7 separate regions of the Homo sapiens genome follow, and all the other regions are linked to region 1. Evidence: promoter capture Hi-C in 16 types of primary human blood cells and fetal thymus (Javierre and others, 2016). All regions are on one chromosome and are shown on one strand. The core of a region is centred on a gene start or on the middle of the fragment in contact, and the rest is flanking DNA. Distances in the headings are between cores, read along the strand shown.

Region 1 (4,144 bases), core at 531-3,030:
TCACAGCCTCGTGCCGAGTGAAGCCAGCCAGTCACAATAGGACCAATGCTGTGACCCCACAGATGGAAGGCCCCCAGAGGAGTCAGATTCAAGAGGAAGATGGCAGAATGGTAGTCAGCAGGGCCAGTGACAGAGGCCGATGGGAGTGAGTGATTAGTCAGGACGGAGCTCCAGTTTCGCGCGATGAAAAGGTGCTGGAGCTGCATGGTGGCGACAGTGGCACAGCCACGTGCAGGTTCCCAATGCCACGGAACTGTGCACTTACCATGGGGATGGTGGGAACTCTCATGTACCCGCATTTGACCAGAGAGGAAGGAAGGAAGGGAGGGGGGAGGGAGGAGGGAGGGAGGTAGCAGAGAAGGAAGGAAGGAAGGGAAGGGGGAGGGAGGAGGCAAAGAAGGAGGGAAGAGGGAGGCAGGGAAGGGGGGAGGGAGGGAGCAGAGAAGGAAGGGAGGGAGGCAGGGAGGGAAGAAGGAAGGAAGGAAGTGAGGGAGGGAGGAAGGGAGAGAAGCAGGAAGGAAGGAAGGAAAGAAAGAAGGAAGGAAGGGAGGGAGGGAGGAGGAGGGAGGAGGAAGGGAGGGAAAGAGGGAGGGAGGGAAAGAGGGAGGGGGGGAGCAGAGAAGGAAGGAAGGAAGGGAAGGGGGAGGAAGGAGGCAGAGAAGGAGGGAGGAGGGAGGCAGGGAAGGAGGGGGAGGGAGGAGGGAGGGAGGGAGCAGAGAAGGAAGGGAGGGAGGCAGGGAGGGAAGAAGGAAGGAAGTGAGGGAGGGAAGAAGGAAGGAAGGAAGGAAGGACGGACCAGCCTGTTAGGCTGACTGACAGAGTACCCCCTGTCCTCCAATGCTGCCCACGGCAGGCATGTGGCAGTGGCTGACAGGGAGTGAGTCTGGAAGCGACCCTTGTCGGGGCAGCCTCCTTGGTCCTGTGATTCAGGACAGGGTGAAAGTCAGTGGCGGCCATTGGTGCCTCTGGCTGGGGTTCCTCACAGGGGCCCGCAAGGGGACAGCGAATGGAGCGTGGAGGGTGGAGGGCTCCTTCTCCGGACCGGAGCGATGGGTTCGGGAGCCATTCTGTGCCTGTCTTTGCTGCTGGGCTGAGGAGCTGGATGGCATGCTGGGAGTAGTGGGAGCTGCTGAGGAGTTTGGTCCTGGAGCGAAGAGGCTGAATCCGCATGTCTGGAGTCACCGTGGAGGGCACAGCTAGAGGGAGCAGCAGGGTGTCCCAGGGAGAAGACACCAGGGCTGGAATTAGAGGGACATCAAGGCTGATACTTAGAGGCATCCAATATATGGGGCCTGCCTGATGGGCTGCTCTCAGGTGGGATTTGGGGGGTGTGAGAGGGGTCAGTGCCCAAATGACCATGGGGTCCGTGGCCTGTATGCCCAGTCAGGTGACGACGCCATTCAGAAAGTAGATCTCATGGGGTGCCCGGCTGCTGAGTCTCAGGCCAGATCTGCAATGAGTGCGCTGCCCCAGGCGTGGAACACTCTGGTGCCATCGGGACCCAAGGCTGAGTGCACCCAGGAGCTGTGGGTCTGAAACAGCGGTCAGAGGTCACCGACATGTGAAGGAGGCCCCTGGAGTGTCAGAGGTCACCGACATGTGAAGGAGGCCCCTGGAGTGTGGGATACAGAACCCCCAGGTGTCCAGCTAGGCAGGAGGCTTTGCAGGACTGAGCAGGTGGGGAGGAAGGGCAGGGAGCGCGGCTGCCAGAGGAGAGAGGGCACTGGGGGTGGCTCGACCTGACGAGGCTGCTTGAAGGAGACACTCTTGGAAACTGACAGGGCTGCAGGCACTCCTGGGAGCAGGAGGAGGGTGGCCTGTCCTGGGCAGACCAGCCTCTCTGGGCTGTGTGGCCCCAGCTCCCTGAGCCCAGAGGGAGGTGAGGGTGAGAAGGCCTGGACCAGGCAGGACGCAGCCCCCAGGGCCCCTGCTGGGAAGAGGTCAGAACCTCCCAAGGACCCAGAAGGCCAGGTAACTGAGAACGGGGCTGCTCTCTGAATCTCCAGGGAGGACAAAGGCGGCCATGGCAGCAAGGGGACAGGGCAGAGGGGAAGGCGGGCAGGTGGATGTTGGAAGCCGCAGATTCCCATCCAGTATCCTAGAGGAGGAGACCCAGGGCTGTGTCCTAGGAGGCCCAGGAAGCCTGGTCAGCCTGGAGGCTGAGGGCGGGCCCGGGAGATCTGGTAAGGACATCAGTGTCTCCACGAAGAGCAGCAGGGTCTCAGCCCATGGCAGCCGCAGGCCCCATGACTGGGGCCGCAGCCTCCAGAGCCGCCACAGCAGCCCATTGTTCTGGGGGGTCAAAGGTGGAGGCTGTCAGAGGGGCAGTGCAGGGGGCTGCTGGGGTGAAGCCCCCTGTAGCAGCAGCACCCAGCCTGCTGTGGCTCTGCCCTCCTGGACCCCCTGTCCTCCTGGACCCCCTTCCCTCCTGGGCCCTCCTGGACCCCCTGCCCTCCTGGACCCCCTGCCCTCCAGGACCCTCTGCCCTCCTGGACCCCCTGCCCTCCTGGACCCCCTGCCCTCCAGGACCCTCTGCCCTCCGGGACCCCCTGCCCTCCAGGACCCTCTGCCCTCCGGGACCCCCTGCCCTCCAGGACCCCCTGTCCTCCTGGACCCCCTGCCCTCCTGGGCCCTCCTGGACCCTCTGCCCTCCTGGACCCCCTGCCCTCCTGGACCCCCTGCCCTCCAGGACCCCCTGTCCTCCTGGACCCCCTGCCCTCCTGGGCCCTCCTGGACCCTCTGCCCTCCTGGACCCTCTGCCCTCCTGGACCCCCTGCCCTCCTGGACCCCCTGCCCTCCAGGACCCCCTGTCCTCCTGGACCCCCTGCCCTCCTGGGCCCTCCTGGACCCCCTGCCCTCCTGGACCCCCTGTCCTCCTGGATCCTCTGCCCTCCCGGACCCTTTGCTGTCCTGGGTCCTCTGCCCTCCTGGACCCCCTGCCCTCCTGGACCCCCTGTCTGTGGCCCCTGCTCCCCTCCTCCTTCCCCGACACATGACTGGACCCCCCGATCTGCAGCCGGGGTCTGGGCACTGGGGGTCCTGTGGGCCTCTCGGTGTCTGGGGACAATCACAGGTTCCCGTGCCCACACCCAGCCTCTGCTTCCAGAACACACTAGAGGGTCCCGGCATCCTGATGAGTCCACTGTCCCCGCGATGGTTTTCAGGGATGGAGAAGGCTCCCTGTCCTCCGCTGGAACCCTGCAGCCGGGCTGACGGTACCCCCACCACCCACCCAGGGGCCCCCAGACCCTCCCCATCTCCACCGCCAACCCAGGCCCCGGCTGCGCACGCGGGGCCAGGCCGTGAGCTGCTGTCCCCGGATGGGGCCGCCCCGGGCTGGCCTGGCTCACTCCGTGTCACAGATATTCCCACAGAGACCCCAGCGAGACCTGCAGAACATTACAGCAGAATGAAGGAGAGCCAGAGGAAGAGGCAGATGTGCTGGCCTGTAAACAGTCTGATTTCCAATGTAAACCAGATTCAGGCCCACGACATCAGGTAAACATCTGCATCAGAGCCCCCGGCCCCCCACCGCCCGGGAGGCCCCGGGGTCCACACGGCCGACTCTGGGACCCGTCACAGTGACCGCCGAGACATTTCGTAATTAGGCAAAATTGATCCTTGCATTCCTTCCCTAAATCCCAAATCTCTGCAATTTTACTTCTTCTCAAAAATGAAAACATTTGGCAATTAGCTGATCCAAGTGAAAAAGGTAGAGAATGTGCTCTCAACTGGAAAATGCCAATTAAGGAAGCAGCTCTGACTTCCCACCCGCCCTGGCTAAGCTGGGAGCTTATCTTCCCCGAGAAGAATCTGCTGGGATAAGGGGGCTTGGGAAACACCGAGGGCAGGGCTGCCTCCTCACCTCCTCAGCTTCCTCTGAGAGCAGATTAGCCGTGGCCTTGTGCCAGCAGGGCCTGGGTGCCACACCGGGTGGCAGCGGGTGGCAGAGCCGGGCCCCGCTCCGGCACTGGGATTTGGGGTGGCGGGACCCAGTGGGGCACCCGCTTGTGGGCAGCACTGAGGGCGGTGACGTAGGCAGCGGGTGCCGGTGTCTGCCCCTCCATCTGGCCGGGCTCCCCACCCTGCTCCTGCAGCCCTGGACCTCAGGGCCCATTTGCGGTGCAAGGCGGCTCTTGGTCGG
Region 2 (4,144 bases), core at 1,108-3,607, 500 kb before region 1:
TACACATTCCACGAACACACAACAGGGCCACGGGACAGCCCTGTGCCAGGTTCCTACCTCCCCGCCCAGAGGCTGTGTGGATAGAGCACACGTGTGTGGGTATGGCATGTGTAGTATGTGGTGTGTTCATGTGTGTGACATGTGGAGTTGTGTGGGGTGAGTGTGCTGTGTGTATGATGTGTGTTTGTGATGTGTGTGGTATATGGTGTGTGTGGTATGTGTGGAGTGTGTGGGGTGTGTGTGGTTGTGTGTGTGGTGTGTAGCGTGTGGTGTGTATGTGTGTGGTGTGTATGTAGGTAAGTGTGTTGTGTGTGCGGTGTGTATTGTGTGTAGTGTATGTGGTGTGTGGTGTGTGTGGTGTGTGTGTATGATTGGTGTAGTTTGTGTGGCATGTGTGTGGCGTGTATGTAGGTGTGTGTGTTGTGTGGTGTGTGTGGTGTGTATGTGTGGTGTGTGTGTAGTGTCTGGTGTGTGTGTGGTGTGTGGTTTATGTGTGTTGCATGTGGCATGTGGTTTGTGTCTATGTGGTATGTATGTAGGCGTGTGTGGTATGTGCGGTGTGTGTGGTTTGTGTGTGTTGTGTGTGGCGTGTAGCTTGTGTGTATGTGGGGCATGGTATGTATGTAGGTGTGTGTGGTGTTTGTGTGTGGTGTGTGTATGGTGTGTGTGGCATGTAGCTTGTGTGTATGTGGTGTGTGGTGTGTGTGTGTGGTGTGTATGTGGCATGTGGTGTTTGTGTGTGTGGTGTGCATGTGCGTATGTGTGCGTATGTGGCGTGTGGTGTTTGTGTGTATGGTGTGTATATGTGTGGTTTGTGTGTGGTGTGTTTGTATGTGATGTGGTGTGGTGTGTGTGGTGTGCATGTGTGTGGTGTGTATGTGGTGTGTGTGGTTTGTGTGTGTTGTATGTGGCGTGTGGTGTGTGTATGGTGTGGTGTGCATCTGTGTGTGTGTGTGGTGTGTGGTGTGTGGTGTGTATGTGGTGTGTGGTGTGTTTGTGTGTGTGTGTGTCTGTGTGTGTGCACGCACTTAGATATCTTGTGTTCGCAGCTTGTCATGGAGAGCAGTCAGTCCCTGGCTGCCTGGCGCCGCTTCCTTCTCGGGCTGCCATCCTGGGAAGGGCCCCCTTCGCCCGGCCGTGCCTCCTGCTCCTGCCTCTGCTGCCCTTCGAATGCAGCCGCCCTTTTCAGCAGCCTCTCCAGGGAGGCCTGGGTGGGCCGCCCTCATCTTTTGTCTCCTCAGCGGGGGTTGCAGTGGCTTCACCTGGAGGCTCCGAGGGAGCACACGTGCGTCCTCTGGGTGAAGGCTGCCCAAGTGCTTGCGTCTGGGCGCCATCCTGTGGTGCCCACAGGGATATCAGGCTGAGAAGGCCTTTGTGCTGGGGTCCTTTATAAAATAAGCTTACCGGGGCATCTACGGCAGGTCAGAGTCAATATTCAAACGTGTTGTTGTCTAAAAATGCCTGGAAATTTTACTCCTAATGTCAAAGGAGGCCCCTCCCATGGGCTCTGAGACTGGAGCGTGGGGGTTGTGAGCAGAAGGACGCAGAGGAGGGGAAGTGCTAGAGAGTGGGGGGTCCGGCCCACCAGGGGCCCTGCGTTGGCAAGACCTGAGGTCATGCCATCATTTTCAGGCAGTGGGAGCCATTGAAAGTGCTTGAGTAAGAGAGTGGCCAAGGCAACGTGCGTTTGATGAAATCAATGAAGCACCTGTATTGGGAGGTGTTTGCTGGAAAGAGATAGAGTGAGGGTGGCTGGGAAGAACCGTGAGGCCTGTGTACACATTTCAGGGGTCCTCACTAAGCCTGGGTGTCTCATGGAGCTGTGGCAGGCTGCATGGACCGTGGGATTTGTTTGGACTCCCAGCTCTCCGTGGGGATGTGGAGAAGGTGAGAGGCCCTGGGGCTGAGGGGGCAATAGCCTGGATCGGAGAAGGTGGCAAGCAGAGGTCAGATGGGGAGGGACTGGAACGCCCCAAACCACAGCCATTTACACCTGGGTGCCAGGTGGGAGCCAGGAAGAGGGGCCAGGATGTTGGACGCCAGCTCCACCCCGTGACTGCTCCCTGCCCAGGCGGACAGTGGGGAGGGGGCATACAGCACTCTGAGGATCATAAGGGTGGGGACCCCAGGAGCTGAATCTAGAAGGAAAGGGCTCCTTCCAGAGGAGGTCATTTGGAGATCCTGCCATCCCCACCCCCTTCCAAACAGCCAAACCCGCTCTGGCACCACCGCCTTCCCTATGCCCCCACCCCAGCTCCAGCTGAACGCCCTCGCCCAGCTTCCTTGGGAGACTGCCAATCTAGGCTGAGTTTTGCAGCTCCTTCTCTGGAGCGCGAGCCAGGCGCAGGCTCTGACACTGTCAGGGCAGCGGTAATGACATCGGCCTCGAGTCCAGGGCCAGCCCAGGCCCCCTGTGCCCGTAGACGAACCCTCAGAGGATGCAAGCCTGAGGGTCCCCATTCTGGTCCGAATGGGAAGCCACTCCAGAGGCGCGCTGGCGCAGGGGGCGGGGATCCCGAGGTGGCCTGGACAGAGTCAGCCTCCTCATGTCGCCCAGCCCTGGCGCCCAGGCCCTCCCCAAGGAAGGTGGGGTGCATGGCCTGCCTGCTCCCTCCGCAGGGCTCCCTGCGGCATCTCAGTGCTTGTGGAGCTGACAGCTCTCTCTGCCTTCCTAACCCTTGATCCCTTTGATAAACATCAAAACCTCAGCATCAGCATTGCCTGGAGGCCATGCCCTCCATGCTGCCTCCCCTGCACAGGCACTCACAGATACATTCACCCCAATTCAGAAGATTCTGCCCAGCCCACCATCTGTGGTTTGTAAAAGAGAAACAATAGACCATCGGTTGCTATTGCTTCTAAATGCAAAACTGCGCTATGACATTACATGTGCTTTTCTGGGAACACAGTCCCCTACCCCAGTGTGCACGAGAAAGGTGCTGGTGCTTCCCTTCTTTGGGGGAACATTGCTGTTTTTGGGGTAGGTTGTTGGACAAGATCCGGATGGCAGAAACCACAAAGGAGACGGTTGACAAGCGTGGCTCCCCGAAGCCACATCATTGCCAAGCCTTCTTGATGACCACAGTCTCCATAAACACGGTAAAGGGTGGACCAGGCTCTGGGAGATGATACTTCCTGCCGAAAAGGATTCATGTCGGGAATGCGTAAAGAATTCCCACATCTCATCAGGAAAAGTGTAAGCTCCAAAGGGAAGATGAGGGGAGGAAGTGAAGGGATCGTTCGAGAGAGGGAGAAGTAGAGATGCTCGGGAAGCAAGCGGACCTGAGATGCCGCTGAAGTGTCATTCAAGCTTTGTAATGTCGGGCGTGGATGATGACCTGGAAGACAGACGCTGTTGGGTCGCGCTGGCGGAGTGTGACGGGAGAGGTGCTGGGGCATTCCTAAGAACATGAATGTGGGCTCCCAGAGCTCATAAGCTCATGATTTCCCTCCTCCCCAAAGGGGCTCACCCTCCAGTATCCAGGCTGGGGGGCCAGGAGCACACGCACCTTTTTATATTTGTGTTTGTGCACGTGTGTATGTGTGTGTTCAAAGGAGAATCTGTTGCTCATGTAACTAAAATTAAAAATAATATAGATGTAGAGAAATTGGAAGTCTTGTGCTCTGTTGGGGGGAGTGTGTAATGGTCCAACATGGCCCAACAATGCCACCTCTAGGTCTAGCCCCAAAAGAATTGAAAGAAGGCTGGGTGCAGTGACTCATGCCTATAATTCCAACACTTTAGGAGGCCAAGGCAGGAGGATCACCCAGGCCAGGAGTCCAACACCAGCCTGGGCAACATATGGAGATCCCCTATCTCTACAAGAAATTAAAACATTAGCTGGGCGTGGTGGTGCGCACCTGCATTCCCAGCTCCTTGGGAGGCTGAGGTGGGAGGATTGCTTGAGCCCAGGAGTTTGAAGCTGCAGTGAGCTATGATGGTGCCACTGCACTCCTGGGTGACAGAGTGAGGCCCCATCTCTTAAAAAACGTATGTGTGTGTGTATGTGTATACAGAAAGGGGGGTCTCAGCTGGGCGCGGTGGCTCACTCCTGTAATCCCAGCACTTTGGGATGCCGAGGCAGGTGAATCATGAGGTCAGGAGTTCCAGACCAGCCTGGCCAATATGGTGAAACCCTGTCTC
Region 3 (4,144 bases), core at 1,079-3,578, 420 kb before region 1:
GCCCTTGACCTGCCCAGCATGGCTGCCAGCTCCTGCCCACTCCCATTGTACCCCATGAGAAGCCCAGCTAGTTTGTGTGCTCTGGGCTGGGTCTTGGCAGCCTGGGTGGAGCAGCTGAGCCCACCGTGGCAGAGAAGGGTGTGTGCTGGGAGCCCACCCTCCTCTGACCTGCACGGCTCCACTGGTCAAGCGCGAAGCCCAGGGGTTCCTGGCGGGGGAGTTGCAGCCTGGCCGTTTCCTGGAGGGCTGGGACTGCCCAGCCCAGCCGAGGGCCTGGCTGCAGCGCCACCTTCTAGGCAGCCCGCATGCTGAGGCCCCAGCCCTCCCCTCATGTTCAGGGAAGACCAGCTGCTTCCTGTTTGTGTGAAGAATTCGGCTGTTTTCCCGAGTGGTGGGTGAGGGTCCAAGCACCCAGTGGGACGGTCGCTCCTCGTTTCTGTGGGGCCTGCTGTTCTGAGGAGAAACTTAATCACTTTGTTTTCTTGGTTTAGGTTTTGCTTTTTAATAATAAAAAAAAAAAAAGACCCAGCTTGTCTGCAGCCCCAGGGCCCTGTGACGTTCCTGGCATAACAGGCGTTACTTTTACACGGGCTGCTGCAGTGGGCGGCTGGCCGGGAGCTCCCGGGGAGGGCAGTGGGTCTCATGGACTCGGCCCTGCCCAGCTGGGCGTGGGCACCGCTGCCCGAAAGTGGGGGGGTCTGAAGGAGCCGACCCCTGCGTCCCGTGCTGGCTCAGCCGGGCTCCCTGAGGGCCCTGACCCTCTCCCAGCCATGGGTCAGTGCTGGGGAGAAGGTTCTCAGATGCCGGGGAGGCCTGGGAAGGAGAAGAGCCTGCAGGCTCCCTCAGCAAGGGCTGGCAGGTCTGGGAACCGCCAGGCCACCTGACTTCCAGGGCAGCCCCTCCGGGAGTCAACACCCGCCCCCTCTCCCAGAAACCCAAGCCAGGAAAGATGGGGGACAGAGCCCTGGCACCCCCACTCTTTCTGGCACTCTCCCCTCAGAGGCCTCAGCTGCTGGACAAGGTCCTGGGCTCCCTGGGTTGCCCTCTTGGCCCAGGCTGGGGATGGAGAACAACGTACAGTCGGTGCCCTGGTGTCCCCCAGGGCCTCAGGATGCCTCCCCCACCCTCCACCAGCTGTTCTGCCTCCCAGCCGGGCCCTTCCCTATCCCACCCAAAACGCTGGCTCTACCCTTCCTGCCCTGTGGCTGGGGAATCTGCAGAGTCATGGGGCCAGGGAAGGGGACAGTAAGGAGGGACCCCTCGTCTATCTCAGCACTGGAGGGGTTCAGGGTCCAGGGCTACCCCAGAAACAGTCACTGTCTCACTGAAGAGCTCCAGGCACACCTTGCCCCTGGCGCTCAGGGTGGCCTGAGCTGAGCCTATTGTGGGGAAGGAGGAGGGGGCTGGAGGTGTTGGCTGGGCCAGGTCACCAGGTGTCGGCAATGGAACCACAAGAAGATGGTCAGTCTGGGGCTACCTTGCCCACTGCTTCTCTCACTTCATGTCATTTGTGGAAGAAAGAAGAGCATGTCAGCTGCAGGTCATGGTAGCCATGGGCCTAGATCTGCACTTCCAGGAATTCGGCCACTGTGCGGCCCCCCTCACATTAACAGGATGGATTTGTGTAACCAACAGTGGGAATGACGGCGGGTGACTTCTGAGGCCAGGTCATAATTGACACTGCAGCATCCTTCTTCTTCCCCCACCTCTCTCCCTTCACTCCCTCTGGGGAAAGCTGGCTGCCATGTTGTGAGGATGCGCAAACCTCAGAGGTTTGTGTGGAAGGACTGAGCATCCCTCCGACAGCCACACTAGGTTGCCAGGCATGAAGGGGACACTTCAGTCCAGCAGGACCTTCAGATGGCTGGGGCCCAGGGCTGGTGGCTTGGCTTGGGGTGTCAGGGGGTGGCAGCCAAGCCAAGCCACAACCACCAGGCTAAGCTGCTCCTGTACTCCTGACCCACAGAAACTGAGATGATAAATATCCATCACTTTAAGTCTTTATTGTTTTAAGTTTTGGACTAATTTATTCTGCAGCCATAGGCAACGAACACCGTCTTCTGGCAGGGGTGAAATAGATGCAACTAGACCAGAGGGGACAAGGCTGGTGCAAGGAAGGCTTGTAAGGACGGAGAGTTGGAGGGGAGCTCAGGAGTCCTGGCCTTGGGTCTGGCCTGGCTCTGAGGCTCAGCAGCTGTGAGCGCTGGACAAGTCTGCCTCCCACCCAGATTAGCCTGGGTGATGAGTGTGGTGTGTGGCAGAGGCGAATAGCCTATGATCACACAGGGAGGACCAGTGTGAGTCACACAAGGGACAGCAATCAAGGGTGACATTGGAGGAACTTGGCTTGTGGTATGGGTACAGGGGACACCAGGGAAGCCTGCAGATGGCTCAGAGTGGCCAAGTCCCCAGAGCAGGCACAGAGGAACAAATCAGAGCATGGCTCAAAACAACGGGCAGCCAGCACCTGCACAGTCCAGCTGGGTACATCTCTTTTTGCCCTTTCAACACCTGGGGCCCAGCAGTTGTTCTCAGGTCAGTGTGAGTGGTCTGGGAAGACAGCTGCCCACCTGGGCCTTTCCACTTGGCTACGTTCCTGGCTGGCATTCAGAGAAAGGGCATCCACCCATCCATTCATCCATCCATGCATCTATCCATCCATTTATCCAGGCATCTATCCATTCATTCATCCACCCACCATCCACCCATCCATTTATACACCCAGTCATTATCCATGTATTCATCTATCCATCCATCCTTTCTTCCATCCATCCATCCAAGCATCTATTCACTCACTCCTACATGTATCCATTTATCCATCCATCTATCCATCCATCCATGCATGCATCCACCCATTCATACACCCACTCATTCATCCATGTATTTATCTATCTATCCACCCATCCATGTATCCACCCCTCTATGCATCTATTCATCCATCCATTCACCCACTCATTCATACATCCACTCATTCACCCATGTATCTATCTATCTATCCATCCATCCATCCATGCATCCACCCATCTATGCATCTATTCATCCGTCCATTCACCCACCTATTCATACACCCACTTATTTATCCATATATCTATCTTCCATCCATCCATGCATCCACCCATCCATGCATCCACCCACCCATTCATCCATCCATCCATCCACCCACTCATTTGTTCATGTATCCATCCACCCATCCATCCTTCCTTCCATCCATGCATGCATCCATCCATCCATCCATGCACCCATCCATGCATCCATCCATCTTCCTTTCCTTCCTTCCTTCCTTCCTTCCTTCCTTCCTTACTTCCATGAATCCATGCATCCACTTATCCATCCATCCATCTGTTCATCCATCCATCTGTTCATCCACCCATCCATGCACCCATCCATGCACCCATCCATGCACCCATCTGTGCACCCATTCATCCTCCCTCCCTCCCTTCTTCTCTTCCTTCCTTCTTTCCTTCCTTCCTTCCTTCTTTCCTCTTGCCCTCCCTCCCTCTCTTCCTTCCTTCCTTCCTTCCTTCCATGGATCCATGCATCCACCCACGCATCCAGCCATCTACCCAGCCAACCATTTACCCATCTACATACCTTTCTAGCCCCCACCACATACTCACATGGACATCTGGGGGAGAGCATCTCATGGCAGGAGCAGCGGGTACAAGGCTTGTAGAGAGGTGATGTGGCGTCTCTGAGGAGTGGTGGATAGGGAGGAAGCATGGGTTGTTGAGAAACACACCTGAGAAACCAAGGGGAGCTTGCCCAGGAAGGCATCAGGAAGCCCTGAAGGGGATGCAGCTTTTTCTTGGAGAGAAGTGGGGCTAGTGGAGGTCTCTGCTTAGGAGTGAAGGGATCCTGTGGCTGCTGAGTGACCAGAGTGCAAGAGGAGAAGTGGAGGCACCTGCTGGGATACACACAGAAGGGAGTGACTGGGAGGGACTGGTGGAGGAGTGAGGGTGGTTGCACCCTGGTGTGTGCTGAGGGCAGAGTGAGAGCCTTTGCTGAGGGCCTAGAGGAGTGAAGAGCCCAGAAGGCCCCTGGGAAGGATGGCATCACCTGACAGAGAAGAGGAGAGGCAGAAAGGTACATTTGGAGTTTCAGGGCTAGGCGGTCATGTCCACAGAGGCCGGGGACATCCGTGAGA
Region 4 (4,144 bases), core at 1,131-3,630, 400 kb before region 1:
GCAGAGGACTCCTGGGTGAGATGAGAGTGTGGGGTGGGAGCAGAGGGGGCTCCAGCCCTTGCTCATCCTTTGCCAGGGCCCCTCTGGCTGCTGTCAGAGCATGGACACAAGAGTGGGCAGGGCTGGCCTGGCTGCAGGGCTTCCCTGGAGCCCACCTGCTGGTTCTGGGGTGGCCAGGCTCAGCAGAGGCGAAGCCAGCTGGGAAAAGGGCTTGGGAGCCGGACAGGAGCAGGCCCTGTTTTCCTGCCCGCACTGTACCATGCAGCTGTGCTCTGTAATTTGGGGCTGAGGCCACCACACCCCACTTCAGGTGGAGGTGAGCCTGGTAATTACAGCCTGGGGGCCAGCTCCCCAGCCCCCAGCCCCACAGGCCTCCGACCGGGGCTGTGCAGCCAGGACCCAGAATCCAAGCCCCTTCTTCCACCTCCACCCACATGTGAGGCCTGCAGGTTAGCCTGTGGCCCCCTCCAGAGTGTCACTCCGTTCACCCTTCCCAAGCCCCTCAGGGTGTCAGAGATAAAAAGATAATAAATAAGCAAAATTTCAAGTAAGTCATTACAGTAAAAATATAAATAAACCAAGCCCCTCAGGAGGTTGTGCTGTGGGCTGTACTGGGGCCCAAAACTCCCCAGAAGATATGACAAGTCATGGGCTTCCAAGAGTGTGGGGGCCGCCTGAGAGTTTTGGGGTCTGGAGGATGGGAGGGGCTTTTCCTGGTGTGGGAAGACCAGGTGCAAGGTGGTAAGGCGTGGGACAAGGTTTGAGTGAGGGTCCTGGAGGCGCTGGCTGACCCCTGCAGGCCCTCCAGGCCTCCTACGTCCAGTGTCAGCAGGAAATTCCAGGCTGCAGTGGTCTTGGTGGGACCCTGCAAGGTGGCGGCCACTCTGAGCCCAGCCCCAGAATCCGATGTCTTCAAAGCTGCTGTGGCTCTTGTCCTGCCCTCAGCCCTGGACAGCCAAGCCCTGGACATACAAGTGTGCGCATAGACACGGCCCGCTTGCCTCTGTGCGCACTTGCCTGTGGGGATGGCAGTGGCGGTGGCTTTTCATCAGTCCAGATGTTGGAGGCTGCATAGCCAGATGAGCAGGCCTGTGGAGGGGGCCGGGGGGCCGGGAAGCAGGCTGGGGTCAGAGAGCCGATAACGTCACAAGGCTGAATGGGAGTTTTGTGGCCCAGTGTCTTTTGGAAATGATGTGCAAAGCCCAGTTAATCCAGTGGGTAGGGCGTGGTGGCTCCTGGGTGAGCCGAGAGGGGCCAGGGGTCAGGAGGCTACCAGGTGGCCAGCAGGACAGGGGGTACCTGCTGAGCAGACCCCATGCCCGCCCTCCCCATGGCCTTTATGAGGACTGGAGCCCCCTTTAAACTCAGGCAGCTGCTGGCCACAGGTCTGCCTGGCCCTGCCATGCGGGGGTAGGGAGTCCAGGACCAGGCATCCTTACGACAGGGTCTGTTGGCCCAGCATCAACAAGGGGCAGAGGGCAGTGAGGCTTGTGCTGCTTGTGGCTGTGCCCTATTTAGAACTTAGCCCCTCACCTTCCTCCCCTAGCTGAATTATTTTTGGCATGCTTGGTGGCCTCGGGGTCTTCATGCTGACTTTAGGAGCCAGATGGGGCTCAGCTTCCAGGTGGCCCTGAGCAGCAGCATCGGGGGTGTTGGAGGGTGGGGCATGAGGGTGGCAGGCCCAGCTGGCCAGGCCTAGGGGGGCTCCAGATGAGTCACTGCCCAGCTTCCAGGACCCAACCCACCTCTGCCCTTACACTCGCCCCTCATCGGGTGGTAGCATTCCTCGGGACCCTGGACTCAGAACACTCTTTAATTTGATTCCCAGATCTGAGGGCCTGAACTGTCAGCTGGGGACATGAGGATCCTATACACCCATCTATTCACTCTAGCAGTGAATCTGCTGGCACAGAGGCCACAGCCTCTCTAGAGGCCACACCCTCTCTAAGGCCACACCCTCACTAGAAACCACACCCTCTCTAAGGCCACACCCTCACTAGAGGCCACACCCCCTCTAAGACCACACCCTCTCTTAAGACCTCACCGTGTCTAAGGCCAGCTCTCTCTGAGGCTCTAGGCGGAACCCTTCCTGCATCTCTCAGCTCCTGGGGGCTCCCGCGGTTCCATGCTATGTGGTCCCGTTCCTCTCATCTCTGCCTCTGTCTTCACACTGCCTCCTCCGCCCCTCTGTCATCAAATCTCCAGCTGCCTCCCTCTTATAACCACCTTGTGTTGGCGTTTATGGTGTTCAGATGGTCCAGGACCGGATTGCCATCTCAAAGCCGTTCACCTCCTCACACCTGCACAGACCCTTCTTCCTCATTAGGTCACATTCAGAGATGAGGATCAGACACCTTTGCGGCCATTAATTCCACCTGCTGGCTCCGAAGACGAGCGCTTCTGCTCTGGGCTGTGCTCCTCTCCTACCTCCTCTGAACCACATCCACGGGACTGTCCCACCTCCCCAAAGCAGCTCTCTTCAAGGCCTCTGGTGGCCTCTAGGTGGCCAAACCCACGAGTCCTTTCTTGGCTCTGTTTTTCCCCAGACAGGGCAGTGCCTGATGCAGGCAAACACCCGTTACCCAAACCACACTGCTCCCTGGGCCCCTGGCTCTGACTGCCCGGCTGCTGGCTCATGCCCCTTTCTTCCCTTTCTGTCCCACCCCATTTTCAGAGCTGGCCTCCACACCTTCCATGTCTGGGTGGTCCCTGCCCTGCCCTCCGGGCCGACTGCCCAGCTCCCCACATCTCCTGAGGCCTCCTGGGACTCCAGAAACCGCTCAGCCCTAGCCCACCAGCCCTGCCCTCACCTCCACAGCCCCTCCTTGCGCGGCCAGGCTTTCTGCTCAAAGGCCCACATCCTGGGGCCACATTTTTTTTTAGATCAAGCATTTGGATTTTCAAAATTAATTTTATCGTGTTTTATTACAATTGGTTTTAGTCGTGGGATCGAGGAAAAATGTACACAGCTCCAAGCAGATATTTGGCAATAGGGTGTTCCACATGCGGATCTGACGTGGTATTTTAGGGTTTGTGGTCTCCAGGTCTCTGTTGTAATGACTCAGTTCCACCATTGGAAGCAACCTTAGGCCATACATAAAAATGATGGGGGCAGAGTGTCAATAAAACTTTATTAACAGAAGCAGATGACGGCCCGGTGCCCAGTGCCGGTCTGGTGTGCACGAAGCAGCAGAATCAAATGCCCGGCACTGGGTGGAGCCTGAAGGAGGCGTGTGGGAGGGGGGCGCTCCCGAAGAGTTTCAAAGACGCTAGGGGATTTTCTCACAGCTAGGCAGGATAAACGGCTTTCCTATTTGCTTAAACAGTGACGAACTTTTCTAACTGCACCAAATCGAGTAACCTGATCACTGCCAAATCCCCACATGATAGTCTAAAAATAGATAGGAAAATATGGATTCCTTTATTTATTGTGGCAAAATAGACACACTGTGAATTCGATCATCTTCACCGTGTTTAAGTGCACTGTTCTGTGGCACTATGTACATTCACGACGTCGTGCAGATGTCACCGGCATCCATCTCCAGAACTTTCTCACCTTCCCACACTGAACCCCCACCCCCATCGAACACCGACTCCGCATTCCCTCCCCTAGCCCCTGGTACCCCTGGCGCTTTCTGTCTCTATGACTTTGACCACTCTAGAAAGCTCGTGTGAGTGGAATCATGGCGTTTGTCCTTTGGTGACTGGTTTCTTTCTTTTTTATTTGTATTTATTTATTTTGAGACAGAGTCTCTCTCTGAAGCCCAGGCTGGAGTGCAGAGGCGCAATCTTGGCTCACTGCAACCTCCGCCTCCTGGATTCAAGCAATTCTCCTGCCTCAGCCTCCCAAGTAGCTGGGACTACAGGCGCCCACCACCACGCCCAGCTAATTTTTGTACTTTTAGTAGAGACAAGGTTTCACCATGTTGGCCAGGATGGTCTTGAACTCCTGACCTCAGATGATCCACTCACCTCAGCCTCCCAAAGTGCTGGGATGACAGGCATGAGCCGCCGCGCCTGGCCGGGGACTGGCTTCTTTCACTGAGCGTAGTGTCTTCAAGGCTCCTCCACATTGTCGCATGTGCCAGAATTTCCCTCTGTGTTACTCCATTCTCGCACTGCTATAAAGAAATACCTGAGACTG
Region 5 (4,144 bases), core at 448-2,947, 340 kb before region 1:
CGGCCCCAGGGGCCCTGCCTCTGACACTGAGGCCTTCAGGTGACATGCTGGGCTGAAACCTGTGCCGTCCTCCTCTCTTGCCTGCCCCTCCAGACCTGGCTGTCATCTGCTCGGGCAGGCCAAGGGGGCTGTGGCCTTGTGTCCCTCCCCTGCTGAAGGCCCAGGACCCTCCTCAATTCAAAGGTCAGTGTCCCTCAAAGCAGCAGGCTATGCCCCACCCAGCACCACCCCCCACAGCCCCACACCACAGCACTGGACAGGTGGGAGCTCTCTCCACCTGGGGCCTGGCACAGTGTGGAGTGGCAGGGGCTTCCAGGGGAGCCCTGGAAGGATCTGGAAATGGGTGAAGGTCAAATCCCAAAACTCCATGCTGCCCTGAAGGGGAGGGTGAGGCAAGAGGCCTGGCAGCCCCCAGGACGCCTACAGCTGCTAGCCACGTACACACCCTCCTCCGGGCACCGCCAGCGCTGTGGCCTGTGCCTGTCCGTGTGCTGGTCCTGCGCCCGGGGGCAGTGGTGTGAGGACTGAGACTGGAGGCCTGACTGCCTGAGACCCCTGACCCCTCCTTGCTGTGTTGAGCCAAATGTGAAGCTGGGTATCCAGCCAAGAGGCAGCCCTGGAGCCCAGACCTGGGCCCCGCTCCCCAAGGAGCACATACTCCCGGCTTGCCGTCCTGGCACAGCTCAATGACACACGCTTTCCAGGCCTGCCTGGTGTTTGCCCAGGGAGACTGCAAGCTCTCTGCAGGCAGAGCCCACTGTCCCTGGAGCACTGCTCCCAAGGGCTGGCCAGCACTCCCATCTGGCACCCAGCTCTGAGCGTCCAGGACCCTCCAAGCCCCCAATGCCCCCATCCAGGCTGAAGCTCACCCTTGAGCTCCAGGTTGGAGGGGAAGACTGTCGACCCCAGGTCAAAGGCCTGTGGTCAAACAGAACCCACCCGAGCCTACAGGATTTAGCCAGACTTTAGCTTTTCTGTGTTCGCCGGCCCCTGTCTCTCCCAGCCCCAACTCCAAGCAGGCAGAGCTGGTAGCCCACTAGCTCAGGGAGGTCTTCTGGTTTCTGTCCCCGCCTCACCAGGAGCAGACTGGGACAGCTCTGGGTCTTGACAGGGGCTCTGCCCCGAGGTGGGTGGGTAGTGCCAGCTTTGCTTTTGGGAGCTCAAGCCAGCCCGGGTAACCTGTCTCCTGAGGACCCGGGCACTCAGACACTGGTGCTGACCCCCAGCACCCTGGGGCTGGAGCAGCTTGGCAGCCTCTCCAAACCCTGCGCCCATTTCTTACTGTCCCAGGAAGAAAACAAGCCGGGCATGCGGTCAGCTCCTTGGGCGTTTTCAGCCCCGGGAAGCACTGACCAGGGTGTCTCCCCAGAGGACACAGAACCAGCCCCAGCAGTTTTCGGAAGCTCACCCTGGCAGTCCTGGGAAGCCAGCCGAGTGGGCTGGCTGAGAGGGCGGTCCGTGCCATGGGTGGGGGTTTGGGCTGAGTGAGCAACCTGGGGTCTTGCAGGCCAGGGAGTCAGCCCAGCAAACAGCCCTAAAGTGGGGCTCTTGGGGACAGAAGGACGTTCCCTTTGAGTGTTCCAGGTGGCTCCAGAGCTGGCTGGGTTGATTGGTGGAGCTCCCTCCTGCTCCATCTTACTCGCCCTGCTTGTGCCACAGCTCCCCCAGCCCCCTCCGTCTTCCCCACTCGCTCGCTCTCCAGGATGCAGTGGTGGGGGGGGGTCTAAGTATTCACGCTGAGGCTTGGAGCCCTCCTCGCCAGGTGACCTGCTGGAGAGAGAAACCCCCCACCAGGGCAGCACTGGTTCCCTTGGTCTCTCCTGGAGTGGAGGAGATGGCGCAGGGGCACGGGGCAGGGCAGAGGGAACACGGCTGACTGCCACTCATGCCTGCAGAGGCTCGGGGAGTGCCGTGTGTGCTGAGCCGCCTGCCACCCATTTGTGATGAAGACTGCCCCTCCCCACCGTCCCGAGCCAGCCTAAGGAGGGCCCAGCCTCCCTCTAAAACAGTCTGTAGCTCACTCTCATCCTGTGCCAGCCTGGCGGCCTTACTAGCTGGCAAGGGAGGAGGGACCTGATTTGTCCTCCAAGAGCTGCTGAGCCCAGCCCCAAAGCCAGGGCTTCACAATGGAGGCACCAGAGTGGCCTCTCGAAGGGTCTGGGGCCCCCGCGGTGTCGTCAGAGGGGGCTGAGGTTCCCTCCAACCCTGGGGCAGGGAGAAGCTGCAAAAGCAAAAGGGAATACCAGGGCCACCTGGCCCACCCTGCATGCCCCGGAGGAAGGGCCGTTTCCCCTACCCTCTCCTGGAACCAGGGTGTGGGGAGACGGTGACATGGGGGCCTCGAAACTGCCCGAGGGCCAGAACCCGTGAGCTCATGGGCAGAAAGGGGAGCTGGACGGGCCTGGGCTGGCCTCTCTGCTCCCTTCCTTGCTGCCCTTTCTGGGGTCTCCAAGTGCCTGGCTGGCGCCTGTCCGGGCCAGGCGTCTACATTCCCTTCCTCTTTGGGAAGAGGACAGGGAAACTGACGCCAGGCCCTGAAATAGCCACCGTCCTTCGGCCTGAGCGCCTGTGCAGACGGCTGTGCTGATTGGCCCCCCTTGGTGGGCACAGGTGGCCCTGCAGTGGACAGGCCCAAAAAAGGCCAGCAGCCTCCCTGGGCGCTCTTGTGCCCCACACGGCCGGTGCCTGAGAGCTGGGGATGAGGCTGGCAGTGATGTCTGCCCCTGCAGGGGGCGGCCCGGGCCAGGCTGGTATAGCAGCTGGGACTGCCATTCACAGCCAGTGGAGACCAGTGGGATGGGAGGGGCAGCTGAGCCAGCAGGACCGGCGAGGGCACCGCCTGGAGAGGACAGGCCTTGGTGCTGGCGTGGGCAGTGGCGAGATGTTGCCTAGTCCATGCTGCCCAGAGCTCCATCTCCCCGGCCAGTCCCCATCCGGCCCTGAGCCATGGGACGTGTGCTGGTGGCCCCTGCAAGCCCGGCCCCGGGCTGAGCCTGTGCATTCTCAGAGGGAGGAGCCCCAGGTGCCTGCTGCAGAGCTGTGGGCCCAGTGGGCAAGGGTGCAGCCCCGTCAGACCACATGCTTGGTGTCTGAGAACCCGTCCCTCACAGGCCTGAAAGCCAGAGGTCGGGGCAGAGGGTGAAGCCCGTGAGCCTGGCAGTGGACGGGCGGCGGACTGGCCGTGTGACGGCATCAAGCGGCAGCTGCCCCCGAGTTCCACTTGTGTCACCTCAGCAGCCTGGGCCCTCCACGGCGCCTGACTGCCTAGCTGTCTCTGTGGCCACACTCCCTGACTCTTTAGCAAAAGGAAGCTGAGCTCCAGGGCTGGAAGTAGGCGTGCCCTAAAGAGGCCCTCGAAGACACCTGGGCAGTCAGGGACCATGGCCCCCCTCGAAGCCAGGATGGCCCAGGATCACCCTGTGTGGGTCTCTGTGCAGCCCCCACCCCGGCCCTGCCTGTCTCTGTCCCCTGTCTCCCTCTGCCCAGGGTCTGTGGGCCTCGGTTTCTCAGCCAGTAGCCACAGCTGGGTGGGCTGGGCAGGGAGTTTGAGGTGCAGAGCAAGGCGGGTGGGCGGGGGGATGAGGAAAGCTGCAGCTCACGGAAAGAACAGGGCAGCGGGCAGCACGGCGGGGGCAGTGACCCGGCCACGTCTCACACGTGATGCTGCTCTCCCAGAGGCCTTGGCCTGGCGCACCTCCCTTGCTAAAGTTTCTCTTTCCACTGCTTCCTGCTTCCCAAGTTTGCTTTCCGGGGTCCAGGCAGACGGGTGGCCACGGAGCCCGCTCAGTGAGACTTGGTTTCTTCTGAGTTCCACTTCCTGGAAGCTTCTCGCCCAGGAGCTGCCAGTCCCCTGCCCCGGCTGCGCTCCCACCCTTTATGCTGCTGCCCACGGGGATGGCAGTTCAAAGGGCCTCGACTGTCCAGGCTGACAGTGAGTGGGGCCGGGAGCAGAGGCTTGGGCCCCAGCACCTGCTCATCTACCCATAGACCCCCAGGCAGGGGCATCAGGAAGAAATAAACACAAAGAAAGCAAGGCCCGGCCGTCAGGCAAACCCAGATCCCACTCTCAGCCTCAGTTTCTCCGTGTGTCAAATAAGGGAGTGGGACTGGCCCCTCCTGGCTGTAGCACTGGCTCTCGCTCCAG
Region 6 (4,144 bases), core at 1,201-3,700, 320 kb before region 1:
GGGCTTTTGTGGGTGCAACCAAATAAAGACAAAGTCACACTGAATTGAGGCGGGGGGAAGCATCCATTCAATGAGTGTCGTCCTTGTAACAAGAGGGAAATTTGCACACAGAGACAGACACACAGTGGAGGAGGCCGTGTGAAGACAGAGGCAGAGACTGGAGCAACGCAGCCACACACCACAGGACACCTGGAGCCCCCAGAAGCCAGAAGGGGCAAGGAGGGGCCACGCTAGGGCCTTGCGAAAGAGGGCGGCCCTGCCCTCCCCTGGGTGGTGAACCTCTGGGCTCCAGAGCTGTGAGAGAGTCCATTCCTATGGCTAAAGCCACCCAGTCTGTGATCACTGTCACAGCAGCCCCAGGAATCAAACCCCTCCAATCCCAAAACACAGGGGACATCCGGAGGAGCAAGCACCCCTCACCAGGGGGCCACAGACACCCATGGCCCAGGACCCAGAGGAGCTGCAGGCTTAGGGCCCAGGGCCAGCAGGCTGAGCCAGGGACGGTGACACCAGGCATGCGCAGCAGCAGCACCCAGGCAGCACCCCAGCAGATGCCAATGTGGTGGCCGCTTCCACCCACTGGTCACGTTGCAGCCGGGTGAGTCTGCCAGGGCTGCCGCAACAAACCGCCATGGACCGGGAGGCTTAAATGAGGGAAATATATCCTCTCCCAGTCCTGGAGGCTGGAGTCCAAGATCAGGGCTGCTGCAGAGCTGGGTCCTCCAAGGCCTCTCTCCTTGGCTTATAGATCCTGCCTTCTCCACATGTCCTCACGGGGTCATCCCTCCGTGTGTGTCTGTGTCCTCCTCTCCTCTTCCTATAAGGACACAGTCCTATGAGACTGTGCTCACCCCTGCTCACATCAGGAGAACGGTCCTGTGTCTCCTCTCGGGACCTCATCTTCATGCCTCCCCCTTGGTTACCCCACGGTCAGGACTCAGCCACCAGCGTGAGCCCACACACCGGCTCTGGAGTGGTGGGCACAGGTGAGAGGGAGGTACAGCTGCCACAGCCAGGAAACCCCAGGACGATCCTGAATGGGCCCAGAGCTGGCTTTTCTCTGTCACGGAGAGAGACATGAGAGGGTCATGAGTGTGAAGATCGCCAGCTCCCAGGGTCAGGGCCCAGCCTCCTTCCATCTCACTGCTCTGGACTCCTCAGTTCCTCATGGAGTCTGTTTAGTGCCTCTCCAGAAAAGACAAGTTGAAGCCCTGACCACCAGCATCTCAGAGCACGAACTCATTTGGAAATAGGGTCATTATAGACGCAATCGATCAGGTCAGACTGCAGTAGGGCAGGCCCTGAATCAAACATCATGGTGTCCTCACAGGTAGAGGAGAGGCACGAGAGAGCAACGCTGCGTGAAGGCGCAGGATGAGAGCATCCTGGAAGATGGGCACGGCTGGGGTGACAGGTCTGGGAGCCTGGGAACACTGGGAAAGTCGGCCAGCACTGGAGCCTCCCTTAGAGCTCGAAGAAGGAGCCAGCCCTGACCACCCCGACTCTGACCTTCTAGCATCGAAACAGGGAGAGACGCATTCCACGTGGTTGTTCCAATCAGCCCAGTTTCTGGGGCTTCCTTATGGCAGCCTCAGGGAACTGGCAAAGCCCAAGTGGGCTATCCCATTACTTATATCTGGGTAGGTCCCAGCCACAGGGGAGAGAGAAGAGAAAGCCCCTCTATCTAATGACACGCTGTACTCATGTCCCACCCGCATGATGTGCCGTACCCGTGTCCCTATCCAGGTGACGTGCCGTACCCGTGTCCCACCCGGGTGACGTGCCGTACCCGTGTCCCACCCGGGTGACGTGCCGTACCCGTGTCCCACCCGGGTGACGTGCCGTACCCGTGTCCCACCCGGGTGACGTGCCGTACCCGTGTCCCACCCGGGTGACGTGCCGTACCCGTGTCCCACCCGGGTGACGTGCCGTACCCGTGTCCCACCCGGGTGACGTGCCGTACCCGTGTCCCTATCCAGGTGACGTGCCGTACCCGTGTCCCACCCAGGTGATGTGCTATGCCCATGTCCCACCCAGGTGACACGCTATACCTGTGTCCCTATCCAGGTGACACGCTGTGCCATGTCCCTATCCGGGTGACACTGTGCCATATCCCTATCCAGGTGACACACAGTGCTCATGTGTCTATCTAGATGACAGCACCGTGCCCACATCTTTATCCCGGTGACAGCACTGTGCCCACGTCCTGTCTTGGTGACATCACTGTGGTTATATACCTGTCCATGTGACATCACTGTGCCCACATCTGCCTCCAGGTGACAGCGCTGTGCCCACATCCCCACCCAAGTGCTCTGGGCACCTTGGCTGGGGCTCTGGCCACTTTCATGTTGGTGCCACCCTGTGTGTGGATCATAGCACCCAGGCACTCACCATTACCGTGGCCAGCACAGACCAGACCCGACCCCAGTAGTCCTCAAAACTAGGTCCCCTGCTGGGTGCGGTGGCTCACGCCTGTAATCCCAGCACTTTGGGAGGCTGAGGCGGGCGGATCACAAGATGAGGAGATCGAGACCAACCTGGCTAACACGGTGAAACCCCATCTCTACTAAAAATACAAAAAATTAGCCGGGTGAGGTGGTGGGCGCCTGTAGTCCCACCTACTTGGGAGGCTGAGGCAGGAGAATGGTGTGAACCCGGGAGGCGGAGCCTGCAGTGAGCCGAGATCATGCCACTGCACTCCAGCCTAGGGGACAGAGCGAGACTCAAAAAACAAAAAAACAAACAAAAAAAAACTAGGTCCCCTGTGCTGTGCTGCTGTACCCCAGCAGTCGCTTCACTGGCAAGACTACTCTTAGCAGGTGCGCCTGGAAGCAGAAACTGGGCAGCTCCCGGTCTGTCCTATACACATGCAAATGCCCCATTAGAAAGCAAATAGCCCGAGGTGTTTGCCTGCTCCCAGGCAAAATCTCCCAAATCTTCCTCCGGGAATCAGTGAACAGAAGAGATGTCCATCACCCCCAGGAGAGTAGTGTCTGAACCCGTCTAACCGCCCAACAGGTTCTCCCTGCCGCCGGTCTGGACAGAGCTGCTTTATCACAACAGGTGACTTGCAATAAAGTTTAATTCACACAGAGTCGGCCGTGCAGGAGACCAGAGTTTTATTATTACTCAAATCAGTCTCCCAGGAAATTTGGGGATCAAAGTTTTTAAGGATCATTTGGTGGGTAGGGGGCGAGTCAATAGGGAGTGCTGATTGGTTGGGTCAGAGATGAAATCATGGAGAGTCAAAGCCATCTTTTTCTGCTGAGTCAGTTCCTGGGTGGGGGCCACAAGACTAGATGAGCCAGTTTATCAATCTGGGGGGTGCCAGCTGATCCACCCAGTACAGGGTCTGCGAAATATCTCAACCACTGATCTTAGGTTCTGCAACAGTGATGTAATCCTAGGAGCAATTTGAGGAGGTTAAAAATCTTTCAGCCTCCAGATGTGTGACTCCATGACTCCTAAACCATAATTTCTAATCTGTGGCTAATTTGTTAGTCCTGAAAGTCTAGTCCCCAGGCAGGAAGAGGGTCTGTCCTGGGAAAGGGCTGTTATTGTCTTTGTTTCAAAGATAAACTATAAACTAAGTTCTTCCCAAAGTTAGTCCAGCCTGCACCCAGAAATGAATAAGAAGGCAAGACAGAGTTGGTTACGTCAGATCTCTTTCATTGTCATAATTTTCTGTTATATATTTTTTTTTTTTTGAGACAGAGTTTCGCTCTTATCATCCAGGCTGGAGTCCAATGGCTCGATCTTGGCTCACTGCAACCTCCACCTCCGGAGTTCCAGTGATTCTCCTGCCTCAGCCTCCCAAGTAGCTGGGATTACAGGCGCCCACCACCATGCCCAGCTAATTTTTGTATTTTTAGTAGAGATGGGATTTCGTCAGGTTGGCCAGGTTGGTCTTGAACTCCTGACCTCAGGTGATCCACCCACCTCGGCCTCCCAAACTGCTGGGATTACAGGCATGAGCCACCACCGCCGGCCGATTTTCTGTAATAATTTTTGCAGAGGCGGTTTCACCAGGAGAACCAAGCATTAATGCGCTGTGGCTGATGTGTAGTAGAGCGGCATTTCCCAATGGGAGAACCCTGGGGCTGTCTAGGAGCCCATGCATGGCTGGGAGCCTAATCCCAGGGAC
Region 7 (4,144 bases), core at 1,095-3,594, 260 kb before region 1:
CCCAGCACCAAGTTAAGAGGGGCTCCGTGAGGCCAACGCTGCCCCAGGCTTCACATGAATTTCACGCTGGCCTCTGCCTGTCTAGGGAAGATGAGGAGGAAGTGAGGGTCAGAGGCCTTGGGTGGGGTGTTCCTGAAGGGCCAACAGTGGTAGGCAGCACTGAGCCTCTGGGCCTGAGGGCCTGGCAGGGGCCAGGAGCTGCTGGGACCTCTCAGAGGCAAGGCGCCTGTAACAAAGCCCGATCACTAATCATGTCCACCCCAGGCCTCCTGATGACCACACTGACACATGGCAGCCTGGTGGCCGGGCCAGTGGGGCTGAGTCTTCACTCACCCAACCCCAGCAGAGCCTCCTCTTGGGCATGGCCTTGGCCTTTCCAAGCCTCAGAGTGCAGCCTTCAGGGGTGGGCCCCAGTGAGAGGCCGAGAAGAAAGGGTGGGCTCTGGAGGTGGAGGGGCCTGACTTGTTTTACCCACAGGTTCAGGCTAGCCATGGCCACCCGAGGGGCTCACACATTCCCTCTGGTGACCAGCTGTGGGACTGCAGGAGTGGAGACAAAGTTTGGGGACTCCCAGTAAACAGTAGAAAAGAGGGTTCAACAGCTCCCAGGCCATTAATTTTCGAGTCTCCAGGCTTGGGGCCTGAAGGGCACACTTTGCTAAGGGTCTGAAGGGCCATGTGTGGGCTTGAGATGAGAGGCTGGCAGGGGTTGGGCCAGGACGATTCACTGTCCTTGTTCCCACAGGCCGAGCCTCTCCAGGCTGGAGCGCCAGCTGCCTGTGCATGGAGCCTGCAGATCTGGAACAATCTGCACTGTCGACACCCAGGGCCCCAGGACAGGGCTCTAAGGCCTCTCTTTTGTTCTCGAACCCTTGTGGGCCCACCAGCCCTCAGTTCCCTCAGTCCCACTCTCCCCAGGGAGCACCCCAAGCACTCCGCATGGGATTTCACAAGCACCTCCACGGTAACCTATCTCAAGTAGAACTCTGCACTAACTTCTTCCTCAAAACACAAAAACCTGGCTCACTGCCACCAGCCTGCCTCCCCACGGCCCCACGAGTGACTCACCCAGGATCCCACCCTCTCGGCACCCCCACCCCAGCTGCATCCAGTCCACAGCAAGTCCAGTCAGCGCTCCCTGCAAAGGCTCCCTGGCAACAGGAGTGTGTGCACTGCTGGGCGAGCGGGCCCCGCTGCCTCCAAGGCAACCACACCTGATCCGTTTCCAGGGGCCCACCACCCTTGGCCCTTCAGGAACACCCCACCCGGGTCCTCTGACCCTCACTTCCTCCTCATTCTCCAGGGACAGGCGAAGGGCCAGCGTGGAATTCACGTGAGGCTCAGGGCAGTGTTGGCCTCACTCAGACCTTTTCTTCCTTGGTGCTGGGTGTTCCCCAAGGTCAGGGCCACGCGCAGCACCGGTCCCAGGTGTCTGCTGAAGGAAGCCTCCTCCACTGGGGGTCCCACCTGCCACCCTCCCCTCTCTCCCCAGCTATGTGCAGGGGCCTCCAAAGCCACACCCTGGCCCCTTGACCGTCCCTCTCCAGAAACACTGATTACTGTTCTCCAAAACCCACCCGGGAGCCCACATCTACTGATTACGCCTGAGTCATTCGTTCACCAAGAAATATGCAGGGCTTCCTGCTTCAATTTGGGGAGGGCGAAGTGGTGCAGGACAGCGCCCCGATGGCCCCCTGGGAATCCAGAGAACATGCAGAGTGGGCGTGGGGGGTCTGGGCTGAGCAGAACCGGGCCTCCCGCCCTGCCTGCCCCAAAGCCCTGAGGGCTGCGGTCAGCTGCCCTTTCCCACTCAAACCCAATCTGGATTCCCAGCTCCTCTGCCTCAGGCCGCGCCCGCGCTGCGGTGGGGGCCGCCCGGGCCTCCCCGCCTGGACCCAACAGCCGACGTGGCCCCCGCCCCGTGACGATCAGAAACGTCTCCAAACAGCTCCCTCGGCCCTGGCTGCGGGACCAGCCCCGGGCCTGACCCCGGGCCACCCTCCCACTCCCCACGCGGGGGCACCGTGGCCTCCATGGGTTTGGCTCGGACCCTCTGTCCCCAGCCCGGCCACGCCCGCCCCCTGGGGTTGCCCTAAACCTGGCGGGGGGCTCCTCCGCCACCCGCCTCGCGTGTCTCAAGGCATGACAGGGGGTCCCGGAGAACCCTGCCTCGCCCGGGCCAGGAGGCGGCCCAGGGACGCCCACCCCGCTCCCCGGAGTCCGCGCGCCCTGTGGGGTCCGTCTGCTTGTGACACTAAGGGGCGCCCCGCGACGGGGGGGTGACGACCCCTACTCACACCACATTCCGCGCCATGGCGGCCACGCGCGCTTCCGGGGTCCGCGAGGCGGAAGGAGCAGCGCGCCCGCCCCGCACGGCCGCCGCCTGGCACAGCGCCCCCTCGCTTCCGGAGGCCGCGCCGCCCCCCCCGCACGCGCCAGCGCCCGTGCCGCGCGCCCGTGCCGTCCCCAGCCCTGCGCCCGCCCCGCCCCGCGCCGCCTTCTTCTCCCTCCCTGCCCCCCTCCTGTCCCGCACCCCACGTTCCTCCCCGCCCCGACCCCCACTCCCCGCGCCGCAGACTCCACAGGACGCGGGGCCGCAGCAGTCCCGCCCCGCACTCCCGGCCCCACAGCCTGAAGCCCGGGCCCGCGCCCCTGCTGCTCGCGCCCCGCCCACGCCCGCACCCCTCCCAGCCCCAGAGACCTCCCGCCGCCGTCGCACTCTTTCGGGCCTGTCTGCCCTGCCTCCCGGGACCCCGGCCTGCACGCCCCCCACACCCGTGCCCCTGCCCTTTGGCAGCTCCAGGCCACAGCCTGGCCCCGCACCGCTGCGCTTGCAGCTGCTGGGAGCTGGAAGTGGAGAACCGGGGCTGTAGTGCTGGGGAGGGCGGGTCCCCGGGCCTGGGGTCTGAAGCCCCTCTCTCCATCTGGCTGTTTTTACCCGGGAGCCCGGAACCCCAGGGCCCCTCACCTCGCCCTTCTGGCCAGCCCGGTTGGCAGCCCCCACGCTGGCCACACCAGCCACGCTGTCCATCCTCGGTGCTCCCACCACGCCTCCTCCAAGAGGGCCACTGGCCTCTTCAGGCCTTGCCGTTTGCTCACCCCCTCTCCACCCTTCTGGCCAGCCCCCTCCAGCCTCTGGCAAGGCCCTCTCTACAGGGACCCCCGTCCAAGGCCCAGTCCTCACTCCTTTCCTTGGGTAGTGCTGGCCAGGAGGGCTGCTGGGACCCTTCGGGAGTAGAGGGCAGCAGCCTCCCTCCCCTGTCCCCAGGCCTCTCCCTCCTCCCCTGGTTTCCTCTGCCTGGTGGCTGGATTCAGGCCACTTCTCCATCTATCTCTTTAACTGCCCGTGCCCCCCACCCCCAAGCCTGGCTTGTTCCCGCACCCAACAGCACCCTAAGTGTTCTTCAGAGCAAGAGGCAGGGGTGTCATGCTTCAGAGCAAGAAGCGGGGCCATGGGTCCTGGTTGTTGCTGGGGGCAGGGGGCCCAGGCCTGCAGGTGGGAACAGGGCTGCGGGAGGGCACTGGGGTTGATGGAAATTCAGGAGGAGGAGAGGGCACTGTGCCCCTCCGAGGGCCTGGGCCGGGTAGGGCTGGAGTTCCTCCTGATGGGTGGGTTTGAGTGGAAATGACTCCAGGGGGTCTATCTAGCATGAAGGCATTGAAGCAGGATGGAGTGAGAAGTGGGCCAGAGTGGGCAGGGAAGGTGGTGGCAGCCGTCCCCACTGTTGTCCAGGCCTGCGTGAGGTGGAGAAGCTCCAGGCTGCCAGTGGCAGGGTCCCAGGAGGCTGGTGACCAGACAGGCCTTTGCCCAGCAGCAGGTGCCCTTGGCCAGGCCCAAGGAGCAGACCGCAGGACAGGGATGGAGCTGGAGAAGGGGGGTCCTGGGGCCGGGGGTCCTCAGGCTTCCTTTTATGTTCATGCAATGCTGCCTCTTTCGGCAGCCACATTGTGCAGTGTGCTTAGAGATATGTGGCTGCTGGAAGTTGGGTTCAGAGTTGTGGGTGGCCGATGTGGAGAGGAGGGTGATTGGAGGCCGAGCTGTGGGTCACGGGTGGGTGCTGCTCAGATCACTGGGGCTGCTGGAGGGCGGCGGTTGAGCTAGGAGCTGAGGTCCTTCCTCAGGGCGAGGCAGGGGTGGGGTCACA

The links. The method cuts DNA at HindIII sites, captures the fragments that hold promoters and counts their contacts. A CHiCAGO score of 5 or more calls a contact.
Region 2: a fragment that was not itself captured here is called in contact with the fragment with the promoter of FAM99B in region 1 in 2 of 17 cell types (M2 macrophages and M0 macrophages); the score reaches 6.5 in M2 macrophages.
Region 3: a fragment that was not itself captured here is called in contact with the fragment with the promoter of FAM99B in region 1 in 3 of 17 cell types (M0 macrophages, M2 macrophages and M1 macrophages); the score reaches 9.6 in M0 macrophages.
Region 4: a contact is called between a fragment that was not itself captured here and the fragment with the promoter of FAM99B in region 1, in 3 of 17 cell types (M0 macrophages, M1 macrophages and M2 macrophages). The highest score is 7.9, in M0 macrophages.
Region 5: a contact is called between a fragment that was not itself captured here and the fragment with the promoter of FAM99B in region 1, in 5 of 17 cell types (M0 macrophages, M1 macrophages, activated CD4 T cells and 2 more). The highest score is 7.7, in M0 macrophages.
Region 6: a fragment that was not itself captured here is called in contact with the fragment with the promoter of FAM99B in region 1 in 17 of 17 cell types (M0 macrophages, neutrophils, M1 macrophages and 14 more); the score reaches 16.8 in M0 macrophages.
Region 7: a contact is called between the fragment with the promoter of MRPL23 here and the fragment with the promoter of FAM99B in region 1, in 10 of 17 cell types (M1 macrophages, neutrophils, monocytes and 7 more). The highest score is 9.6, in M1 macrophages.

What each region holds. Positions count from the first base shown.
Region 1 is chr11:1,683,265-1,687,408 of GRCh38, reverse strand. FAM99B (family with sequence similarity 99 member B) reads left to right here and starts at 1,780. Exons shown (of 3, transcript NR_026642.1): 1 at 1,780-1,971; 2 at 3,107-3,215; 3 at 3,375-4,139. RefSeq lists an enhancer at 1,675-2,444. The HindIII fragment of the contact is 16,209 bases long and covers 1-4,144 here.
Region 2 is chr11:2,184,051-2,188,194 of GRCh38, reverse strand. No RefSeq gene overlaps it. Among named protein-coding and RNA genes, the nearest start is that of MIR4686, 13 kb to the right of the region's middle. The HindIII fragment of the contact is 1,911 bases long and covers 1,402-3,312 here.
Region 3 is chr11:2,105,852-2,109,995 of GRCh38, reverse strand. No RefSeq gene overlaps it. Among named protein-coding and RNA genes, the nearest start is that of MIR483, 26 kb to the left of the region's middle. The HindIII fragment of the contact is 9,248 bases long and covers 1-4,144 here.
Region 4 is chr11:2,087,522-2,091,665 of GRCh38, reverse strand. No RefSeq gene overlaps it. Among named protein-coding and RNA genes, the nearest start is that of MIR483, 45 kb to the left of the region's middle. The HindIII fragment of the contact is 7,456 bases long and covers 1-4,144 here.
Region 5 is chr11:2,026,496-2,030,639 of GRCh38, reverse strand. No RefSeq gene overlaps it. Among named protein-coding and RNA genes, the nearest start is that of H19, 31 kb to the right of the region's middle. The HindIII fragment of the contact is 4,258 bases long and covers 1-3,826 here.
Region 6 is chr11:2,003,356-2,007,499 of GRCh38, reverse strand. It overlaps a transcript of MRPL23 not described here. Among named protein-coding and RNA genes, the nearest start is that of H19, 7.6 kb to the right of the region's middle. The HindIII fragment of the contact is 6,201 bases long and covers 1-4,144 here.
Region 7 is chr11:1,945,532-1,949,675 of GRCh38, reverse strand. It overlaps MRPL23 (mitochondrial ribosomal protein L23), which reads right to left and starts at 2,344. Exons shown (of 5, transcript NM_021134.4): 1 at 2,297-2,344. The coding sequence starts at 2,313. SNORD131 (small nucleolar RNA, C/D box 131) reads right to left here and starts at 345; the gene lies at 200-345. RefSeq lists an enhancer at 1-415. The HindIII fragment of the contact is 42,193 bases long and covers 1-4,144 here.